Linked DNA regions of Homo sapiens: all the other regions are linked to region 3. Evidence: promoter capture Hi-C in human tissues and cell types (Jung and others, 2019). All regions are on one chromosome and are shown on one strand. Each heading gives the region's core, a stretch centred on a gene start or on the middle of the fragment in contact. The rest is flanking DNA. Distances are from core to core; before and after follow the strand shown.

Evidence for each region. The method cuts DNA at HindIII sites, captures the fragments that hold promoters and counts their contacts. A contact is called where the count stands out against the background at its distance.
Region 1: a fragment that was not itself captured here is called in contact with the fragment with the promoter of EP300 in region 3 in 2 of the 25 tissues and cell types used here (IMR-90 fibroblasts and lymphoblastoid cells).
Region 2: the fragment with the promoter of SLC25A17 here is called in contact with the fragment with the promoter of EP300 in region 3 in 1 of the 25 tissues and cell types used here (adrenal gland).

What each region holds. Positions count from the first base shown.
Region 1 is chr22:40,801,098-40,804,610 of GRCh38, reverse strand. All of the region lies in intron 1 of SLC25A17 (solute carrier family 25 member 17), which reads left to right. Among named protein-coding and RNA genes, the nearest start is that of MIR4766, 11 kb to the left of the region's middle. The HindIII fragment of the contact is 6,915 bases long and covers 1-3,513 here.
Region 2 is chr22:40,818,034-40,821,528 of GRCh38, reverse strand. It overlaps SLC25A17 (solute carrier family 25 member 17), which reads left to right and starts at 2,183. Exons shown (of 9, transcript NM_006358.4): 1 at 2,183-2,334. The coding sequence starts at 2,281. The HindIII fragment of the contact is 14,485 bases long and covers 1-3,495 here.
Region 3 is chr22:41,091,129-41,094,665 of GRCh38, reverse strand. EP300 (EP300 lysine acetyltransferase) reads right to left here and starts at 2,074. Exons shown (of 31, transcript NM_001429.4): 1 at 1,568-2,074. The coding sequence starts at 1,661. It overlaps MIR1281 (microRNA 1281), which reads right to left and starts at 2,153; the gene lies at 2,100-2,153. RefSeq lists an enhancer at 1,384-1,623 and silencers at 1,734-1,833, 2,014-2,783, 2,884-3,173. The HindIII fragment of the contact is 16,440 bases long and covers 1-3,537 here.

The sequences.
Region 1 (3,513 bases), core at 800-3,299, 290 kb after region 3:
ACAAGCAACTCACACAACTCAATAGCAAAAACAAACAAAAACAAAACAAACAAAAACCAAGTAAATAATTAAAAAAATGAAAGCTCTGAATAGACATTTCTCAAAAGAAGACATAGAATTGGCCAAGAGATACTTAAAAAAAAGCTCAACATCACTAATCATTAGAGAAATGCCAGTCAGAATCACAATGGGATATCACCTCACCCCAATTAGATTGACTATTATAAAAAAGACAGAAAATAGGGATCCCATTCCTTCACAGGGGCCCTGGTAGAGTGACCTTGCACATCTAGGTACCAGCGAGCCCCAAGTACACACTTGCTCTGGGCTTGGGTGCGTAGATGGGCAAGGATGGATTGTCTCTACCATTCCTCAACCAGCTGAGGCCCTGAAATCTTCCCTTAGCCAGATTTCAGGACAAAGGAGCACTAGATATTATTAAAAGGACTCCTTTTGCTAGTCCTTTGAAGCCCGAATTGGGATTGAAAGTGAGAGGAACAGGGCCTGGGCTCAGAAGGGGGATATAAGGAAAGCAGAACCCAGTGTGCCTGTGTCAGTGTCGTCTGGAGAAAAAGCTCTTGATGATATCTAATAGCTGTTATTCACATCAAAACTCTCTAAGGCCCTCCACCTATTTTCTCGTTTATGGGAAATGAAACATTCAGAGAAAGGACTTGCCCAGTCACCTCAGATGGCTCAGCTGGAAACTAGAAGTGAGATCCGACATAGTGGAAATGTGTAGCATACGGTGAGCCACTTTCCAACTTAGCCATTAAAAAAAAAAAAAAAACAAAAACTAGCAAATGCTGGTGAGGATACTGAGAAAAGGGAACTCTTGCACACTGTTGATGGGAATGTAAATTGGTACAGCCATTATGGAAACATTATGGAGGTTCCTCAAAAAATTAAAAATAGAACTACCATATGATCCAGCAATCCCATTACTGGGTATATATCCAAAGGAAATGAAATCAGCGTGTCAAAGAGACCTCTGCATATCTGTGTTAATTGCAGTGCTATTCACAGTAGAAAAAATGTGGAATCAATGCTTATCTACAGATGAATGGATAAGAAAAATGTAAATATACCAATGGGAATTTTATTCAGCTGTAAAACAGAATGAAATCCTGCCATTTGTGGTGACATGGATGAACCTGGACAATAAATATTATGTTAAGTGAAGTAAGCCAGGCACAGAACAAACATCACATGATCTTACTCATAAGTAGAATCTAAAAAAATTGATTTTATAGAAGTAGAGAGTAGAATAGTGGTTACCAGGGGCTAGAGATGGTAGGAAGGAGAGGGGGACCAGGAGAGGTTAGTTAAAGGGTACAAAGTTTCATTTAAGTCAGGTACTGTGGTGGCACAGGGCTGCAGTTCCAGCTACTCGGGAATCTGAGGCAGGAGGATCGCCTGAACCCAGGAGTTCAAGGCCAACTTGGGCAACACAGGGAGACCCCATCTCTTTAAAAGAAGAAAAAGTTAGACATGAATAAGTTCTGGTGTTCTATTACAAACTATGGTGACGATAGCAAATAACAATGTCGTGCGTATTTCAGGATAGCTAGAAGAGAAGATTTCCGATATTATCACCACAAAGAAATGATGTTTAAAGTAATGGGTGTGGTAATTACCCCAGTTTGATCATTATACAGTGTGTACATGCATTGAAACACTACACTGCACCCTATAAACATGTACAATTATTACATGGCACTTATAAATAAATAAATTTTGAAATGTCTCACTGTGGTATTCTTTTAATTCTCATCTACCAATTAGACCCCTTTTTGTTTTTCTATATAGTCCTTTTATATAAAAATCTGTTCTCATTATTAATCATTGGAGTAGGGAGGAGGCAGTGGTGGGTTTTCAGCTAACCCTCTTGATCCAGTCTTTCCAGTGCTACTAAATTTATAAAACTGTTACTTGGTGTTACTCATTTGAATTTTCTTTTTTTTTGAGAAGGAGTTTCCCTCTTGTTGTCCAGGCTGGAGTGCAGTGGCACGATCTTGGCTCACTGCAACCTCCGCCTCCCGGGTTCAAGTGATTCTCTTGCCTCAGCCTCCCAAGTAGCTGGGATTACAGGTGCCCACCACCACGCCTGGCTAAGTTTTGTATTTTTAGTAGAGGGGGAGTTTCACCATGTTGGCCAGGCTGGTCTCGAACTCCTGACCTCAGGTGACCCATCTGCCTCGGCTTCCCAAAGTGCTGGGATTACAGGCTTGAGCCAACGTGCCTGGCCTGATTTGAATTTTCATATGCCAGTTCTTGAGGTAGTAATAGACCAATGAGCTGTTTGGGCTGACTGTTCTCTTTATCTTGGTGTTTCACTTCAAGATATCCAGATAGGTAGGCAAGGACTTCTATGTTTAGGAACCTTCACGTGTCTATTTAAAGCTGGCAGAAAAGAGGGATGAAGGTGGCCCAGTGTTTGAAGAGGTAGCTTCCAGGCTAGACTTTTTCTGTCTGGAGATGCCCTGTCTATGCAGTACCCTTCAAAGAAATGCAGTACCGGCCAGGCACGGTGGCTCACGCCTGTAATCCCAGCATTTTGGGAGGCCGAGGCGGGTGGATCACCTGAGGTCAGGAGTTCGAGACCAGCCTGGCCAACATGATGAAACCCCGTCTCCACTAAAAATACAAAAAATTAGCTGGGCATGGAGGCGGGCGCCCTTAATCCCAGCTACTCGGGAGGCTGAGACAGGAGAATCGCTTGAATCCAAGAGGTGGAGGTTGCAGTGAGCCGAAATCCCGCCATTGCCCTCCAGTCTGGGCAACAAGAGCAAGACTCCGTCTTAAAAAAAGAAAAGAAAAGAAATGCAGTACCATGCGATAGAAAATGAGTGCCAGAGCCTTAATAAACTTAATAAGCTTTCTCTAACTTTCCAGCTCCCATTTTTCTTGGAAATTGCCTCCTGAAGATGAGCAAGGATGCTGGATGCATGGATTTGTAGGATTTGTAAAGCTTTGTGGGTTCAGTGTTTTGTGAGACATTGAATATCATTTAGTCGTTGAGTGTCATTTCTTGAAACATTGAGTATCATTTAATCATTTATCATGACTAGAAAAGAACAGTTATGTTGGGGTCATCAAAAAAGCATAAATAAGTGAAAGTACAGTGAATTGAATAAATGTTTAATTGAGAATCTAGGATGTGCACAGATATAGAAAGAATGCTCTCACAAATTAGCAGAAGAGTTGGATTTCACTGTAGTATATGTGCTGAAAGAGCCATAAATAAGTGCTAATGGCACCCTAGAGGACTGAACAACCAATTGTAAGCTGATAGGCGGGGAGAGGTAACAATATGTGTTTTGAAGAATACAAATATTAGAGTATTCTCCCTTGTCATGGAGGCTGACCTATTTAAATTGATAATAGGCCTACCAAATTTTCTTATTTAAGTTGACCTAGCTCCTAGTTATTTATCATTTACATATATATATATATATATATATATATATATATATATATATGTAATATATTTTTTTCTTTTTTCTTTTTTGA
Region 2 (3,495 bases), core at 934-3,433, 270 kb after region 3:
ACATGGTGAAACCCTGTCTCCACTAAAAATACAAAAATGAGCCAGGTATGGGGGCGTGCACCTGTAGTCCCAGCTACTCGGGAGGCTGAGGCAGGAGAATCACTTGAACCCGGGAGATGGAGGCTAACATGAGTCAAGATCGCGTCACTGCACTCCAGCCTAGGTGACAGAGCGATACTCCGTCTCAAAAAAAAAAAAAAAAATACTGTTTTCAGTATGTCAGTCTTCAGTTGATCATGCTGGGCGCTGTGGCTCACACCTGTAATCCCAGCACTTTGGGAGGCCGAGGCGGGCGGACCACGAGGTCAAGAGATTTGAGACCATCCTGACCAACATGATGAAACCCCGTCTCTACTAAAAATACAAAAATTAGCTGGGCGTGGTAGCGCATGCCTGTAATCCCAGCTACTCGAGAGGCTGAGGTAGGAGAATCACTTGAACCCGGGAGGCGGAGGTTGCAGTGAGCCAAGCCTGGGCCACAAGAGTGAAACTCCATCTGAAAAAAAAAAAAAAGGTTGCAAGGCCCGGTACAGTGGCTCATGCCTGTAATACGAGCACTTTGGGTGGCTGAAGCAGGTGGATCACTTGAGCCCAGGAGTACAAGACCAGCCTGGACAACGCAGAGAAACACTGTCTCAGGTTTAAAAAAAAAAAAAAGCTGATCAAAATGTTTTTGGTATGTAAGATACAAAAACGTCAAAACAAAGTATTAACAATGTTTTCATAACTATGATGCATAATCCAGTATATTCTTGACAGCAAGCTCCCAATTTGATCAGGAGTCAATGAGAACTGAGTTCTCAAGTTTTACAGCCAACTAGTTTCTATGTTCCCATGCCAAAATAATCTTTTTTTTTTTTTTTTTAGGAGTCTCACTCTGTCCCAGGCTAGAGTGCAGTGGTGCAATCTTGGCTCACTGCAACCTTTGCTTCCTGGGTTCAAGCGATTCTCCTGCCTCAGCCTCCCTAGTAGCTGCAGTTTCAACATTGTAATTTCTACAAGGCGCGTGCCACCATGTCCGGCTAATTTTTTCTATTTTTAATAGAGACAGGGTTTTGCCATATGGGCCAGGCTTGTCTCAAACTTCTGACCTCAAGTGATCTGCCCGCTACGGCCTCCCAAAGTGCTAGGATTACAGGCCTGAGCCGCTGCGCCCAGCCCAAAATCATCTTCGCTTCACTTTTGGTCCTTCACTTTCACGTCATGATTCTATGGCGTGATGGGAATGTTCCTGGAAGCAGTATCTTCTGCAAATTTTGTGAAAACGGCCAGGTTAAACTTTGTTAGACCCCTCTCCCAGGGATTAAGTGTGATGATGGGCATAAAACACTAAGCCTGGCATGTAGTCAGCACTGAGGAGTTATCACGAGGATATTCTAAAAGGAAACATGGTAAAGACAAGTGGTGATGGTGTCTCAGGAAAGAATCCCTGAGTCCCTGAGGAGCATCCTGAAGCAGAATCTCACAGTATGACAGGTTAAAGCTGAATGTGGCTGCTTTAGTTTTGTGTAATTTTGTTAGTCACTTTGCAACATGGAAAAAAATTTTTTTCCTTCAGTATTTTATGAAGTACTACTACATAAATTGGCTTTCGTAATCCTCACAGCAGATGGGGATTGTTGGTACTAGTACATTGTCATTTCACAGAGGAAACCCAAGAGGTTAAATGACTTCCATAGTTGCCAACTAGGGGGAGGCTCCCACTCGCGTCTTGTATTTTGGGCTCCTGATGCTCAACATCTCTTCCCACCACACTCAAGGGTTTTTCTGGAGGAAGAAGTTTCCAAGTCCACAAGTGAGTTTTTTTCCTCTTGGCCAAAATGTGACTTTCAGAATAGAAAAGAGCTCAGGCGCAGAGAAACAGGGAGACTGGAGTCTCATTGAGTTTCCCCATCTTTGTCACCAGAGTAAAAGAAGGCCATTAAGACTTCTGAGATGGAGGAACTGGTCAGGGCCCGGGAACGCCAGAGAACGTCGGAGGAACCGGGAGCCGGGTACCTGGTGTCAGGCCGCCTTGCGCCTTGGAGCCCAGCCCCGCGAACACCTCGCTGTCCCGCCCCGCGCCCACAGGGGCCAATCAGCGTTCAGGGGCGTTCTTAGCCGCCCCCCCCCCCCCGCTTTCCCGCCCCGCGACCCGGAAGTGGTTCTAGGGCAGGCGGGCGGGTTTGAGAGGGCGGGGATTGCGACTCTCACACCCTGAGCTCCGGTGCTCCTTTCCTAACTCCACTGGCTGCGGCATCTGTGGGAAAAGTGTGGCTGGGTCTTCGAGGAGCCGCACCAATGGCTTCCGTGCTGTCCTACGAAAGCCTGGTCCACGCCGTGGCCGGAGCCGTGGTGAGACGGGGTCTTTACGCCCGGGCCGCAACGGGTTATAAGGCTTCTCGGGGGCCAGTCCCGGGATATGCCTGAGGGATGGGTCTGAGAGGGAGGTAGTGTGGGTTGGGGTCCACTGTCATGACTGTGGGGCAGAGAGGAATGGGCCATTGGCGGAAAGTTGTTGGAGGAATTCGGGGTAAGGGCCGAGACTCCGCCACCTCCTGGTCTCCTAGAGACTGCGGGGTAGAGAGCCGTGTTCACACGTGCCCGCTCAGGGTCCGCATCTTTGCCGTGGGAAGTTTAAGGTCAGGCTACCACCGCACACTCACACACTTTGCTTTACTGGCCCGGAGGAGAACGTAGGTGTGAAGCCGTGTTGCTTAGTCACATGCTTCCCTACAGCCTGTCTTCACGCTTGCCGCGGGCAAGTGGCAATACCTAGTAGGATAGCTCTGGGCACCGTTATTGGCAGGAGAAGATAGATCCTTTTTTTTTTTTTTTTTTTTCCGGACAGGGTCTTGCTCTGTTGCCCAAGCTGGAGTGCAGTGGCGCGATCACGACTCACTGCAGCCTCGATCTCCCGGGCTCCAGCGATCCGCCCACCTCAGCTTCCTGAGTAGCTGGGACTGCAGGTGTGAGCCACCACACCCGGCTACATTTTTAAAAAAAATTTTTGGGGTCTGGCAGTGTTGCCCAGGCTGGTCTCGAATTCCTGGCCTCAAACGATCCTCTCGATTTGGCGTCCTAAACTGCTGGCATGAGCCACTGTGCCTGGCTTTTTTTTCTTTCTTTCTAAATCAAGATCTGGGTTCCTGTCTACCACAAGTGTGGTTTGTTATGAGGTATACGCTTGATTCTTGGGCTTCTGGTGTCTAGGTTCCACTTGACACTTCCCCTCTCCCCTCTTTTCCTTAAAACTTTCCACTTTTGGCTTGGGTGACTCCTCTTGTGGTTCTTTTATCTCTTTGACTGCCTTTTCTCATATTCTTCACCAGTTGTTAGCACACACCTTTAGCTGTTAAAATCACTGTGACTTCAGAGGAACATCACTGAATCCTCTGTTTAGCCTCCAGAAACTTCACTGAGAGCTCACCTTCTCTGTAGACTAATCTGGATTTAACCCTAACTCCATCATTTGTTAGCTAGATGCCCTGTAAACCTTACTTTCTTAATCTGTAA
Region 3 (3,537 bases), core at 825-3,324:
ATCTAAAAAATGTTTCTGAATGGCACTTTAGTAGGTGCAAAGGAATACAACGACGTTTGTGTATGTGTATGAATTCTGAAGGAAAAAACCAGCTAAAAAAATCCCTGGAGACTACAGTACCTTCATAGAATAGGTACAGATCAAAGTTCATGCATAATCAATGTTACAAGCCTTAGGTAGAGGAACTCGCAAGATTCCTACTTCTCAATTTTTGCAGGTTAACTTAAATTCATTTCACATCTTTCTTATAAAAGCAACGAATTCAAAGCATTAGCTCTGTCTTCCCATTTTCACCCTCTGAAATGAAGCCTATTTAGAAACATGCTCTCGAAGTTCTCTACAAACTCAAAGGGTACATTTAACTCCATTATGCACTCTCACTGGCAGATGGAGGGATGACGCTGAGCCTGCTCTCAGGGAGTTAAAGAGATGCTCCGTAGTAAAGGGGAACATCTTGTGGACTGTCAGATGGCCAGCCATTCTTCATCTTCATTATCCCAGCAAAGAAAAGGTCCTTACCCATCAGGATAACACCATTAAACTAACTGTAAGAAAAGAATGAAGGGATGATGGAAGAAGTCTCCCTGAACTTCTCCTGACAAAGGAGCTAGTCCACAACTGAATGAACTGGTCGTAAAGCTTTTAAACGAAAATCTTGATCTCCAAGTATGTTTAAAAGTGTAAAAAGACAAAGACACACACAAACACCAAACCTAATGCACATTTTAAACTTTTGTACAATCAGTTCACGTTTGTAGTTCATGATTGGAACTCTTTCAACTTCTAACCTTGATTTCCAGGTACGTAACTCCACAAAATTGTTTATCTTATTTCCCCTAAAATGAGAAAGTGACTGCAAACTGCAAAGAACATGCCCCTGTTCTCCCAACCTAAAAACCCAGAGTTTCAGACATTTTGGTCTCACACCAAAGAACTGGGAGATGTGAAATGAACTGCGCTCCATATTGATTCTTAAAGCAAATAAGAAGAAAAAGGAAAAAAAAGCTAAGAATGGTAGGTAAGATAAAAGAATTGTTAAACTTCACCTCTAACCTGAAATCTTGGACCTCGCACACACAAAATCAAGATTTTTTTACACCCTATTCCTCAACAGAAAATATTCTGCAAAGGAGAGAAAATTTCGAAGAGTGGAAAGTAGAGGAAACACAGTAAGTACAGTAAAGAGAAAGGATTCGAAATTCATTTGCCAAGAACAAAAAAAATGAAACTTAAATTGCATAGGAGCTCTTACACACAAATGCATTGGCATTTCCCAAATTAAATTGCATGAGAGCAACAATACAGGCCATTTCTATATAGCACCCACTTACGAGCTCTAATTCCAGAACACACACCGATATGACATAGTGTTGCAATCAATGTATTAGGAGGCAAAGAAAATGGTTGGGCTACTGGACGTCTTCGACCAGCTCATTCAAATACCTTTAAAATTAATTAAGGGGCAGGGAACTAGAGAGAGAGGAAGAAAAAAAAAATGGAAGAATAAAGGCGCACCGAGTAGAAAAGATTAAAGGGAACGTGGAAGGCCGGGGCTGCCGAAACTAACCTGTGCCATCGCTGGCGGACGCCGAGAGGGCCGGAGATGAGAGTTTAGGCCGCTTGGCTGAAGGCGGCCCCGGTTCCACCACATTCTCGGCCATTTTTAATTCTTTCGGAGATACAAGCGAGGAAAACCAGAATCCTCAGGAAATCTCTTCTTCGGCCCGGGGTCCCCGCGCCGCACCCAGGGGTGGGCTGGGGGGCTCCGACGGCACCCGAGGGGGTGGGGGAAGTTCCTTTTTCTCTTCGCCGGGTCGCAGTGGCTGGAGAGGGATGCGGACTCGATAGAAAAGGTAAGGGCAAGTGCGAGGGGCCGGGCCTGGGCCCAAGCCCGGAGGAGGGCACAAGAGCACAAATTCGCCGAGCGCGTCCGCTGCGGCGAATTCCCGAGAACTCGCGGCTCTAGAGGCGCAGTCCCCGGCCCGCCACGGCCGGCCCCTGCCCAGCCGAGGTCTCTCGGAGCTCCGCCGCCGCCATCAACCTCTTCCTCCTCGGCGCTGTCCTCCTCCTTCTCATCGCCACAAGGAGGCGGGGGCGAAAAGGGGGGAGAGGAGGAGGCGACAAGAGACACTCACCTCCTCCCGGTGCCCCCTCCCGGGCCTGCGCCCCCACCCTCCGAACCCTCCTCCTGCCGCCGCGCTCCGCGCCGCCGCCGCCGCACCGGCCCCTAATGGCCGCAGAGAACTCGCCCGAGCCGAGAGCCAGGCTGGCGCCGCCGCCTCACATCGCGCGGCGGCCGGCGGAGGCGCGGCAAGGACGCCGGGAGCGGAGCTGGCCGGACCAGAGGGCCGAGGGGGCCGGGCCGAGCAGCGCCGCCCGCACGCCCGCGCCGACGCGGAGCCCACCGAGGAGGCCCCGCTCCGGCGGCGGCGCAGGCGGCCCCTCCTCGCGCCGCGCTCCCCTCCTTCGCCTTCCTTTCCCGCGGAAAATAAATAAATACGGCCGCTGCTACGGCCCCCACCGCCGGCGGCCAGGTGCTGGGAGCGCCCGCCCCCCGGGGCTCCGTTCGGGGCCGCCCGCGGCGGCGGGAGAAGACGCCGCGGGGCGCGGGGTTATGTAATGGTCCCCCCTAGGCGTCGACGCCGGCCCGGCTGCTGGACCGCGGTGGGGGTGTGTGCGGACGGGAGGGGGCTGGGGGTCGCCTCAGCCCGTGCGCCCCGGGCCCCCTGCCACTGTCTCGGCCCCTGCCGCCTCTCTCCGACCCGACTCCCCTCCGCACTCTCTGGCTCCCGCAGTTAGCACTCAGCCCGGCGTCCTGCTTGCCCACTCTCGCCCGCTCTCTCTCGCCCTCTCTCCCCCCCAGCCTAGCACACAAACAAGATGGCGGCTGTTGTTTCTTCCCTCTGCCGAATCCTCCTTACAGGCTAGCGGTAGCGGCGGCGGCCGGAAATGAGCCAAGGGGGGGTGGAAAAGGGGAGTGGCCGGGCCTCCGGAGGGGGGCGGGGCCTAGGCCCGAGCCGCTCACACAATGGGGGAAGTGGAGCCGGGGGCGGGGCCTGTCCCAATCACGGGATCCGCCCTAGGCCCCAACGCGGTTAGCGCTTCCGCAAACTCCCCCGGCGTCACCCTGTGGCTCCCTTTAAAGGGGAGGATTTTAAGAGTGGGGAGGATTTTAAGGGGGGAGGGGCGGGGGCGGACTCAGAATCTATTTTCAGTCGGTGGATAGTTACGAGGGAAGGTTCCTGCCTTTGGTCTCTGCGTAAGGGACCAGTGGGAACCGGGACGACGGAACCCCGGAGCTGCTCCGAGGAAGGCGCCAAGTCGCCACTCAGGTGGCCAAATGGGAGCGCCCGTAGGGCGGCCCTGCTCTTCGGCCCTTGGGTGGCGGGTCCCCCAAAACCCCGGTCGAATTCACCAGGCAGGGTGTACCCACTGCCGGCTGTTCCGGGCCAGATACCCAGTGCGTCCTCACTTCTCCATTGCCCTCCCAAAGGGAGCAGTTCACATCCAAAAAGCACGTTGATTACGAGTTGTTTT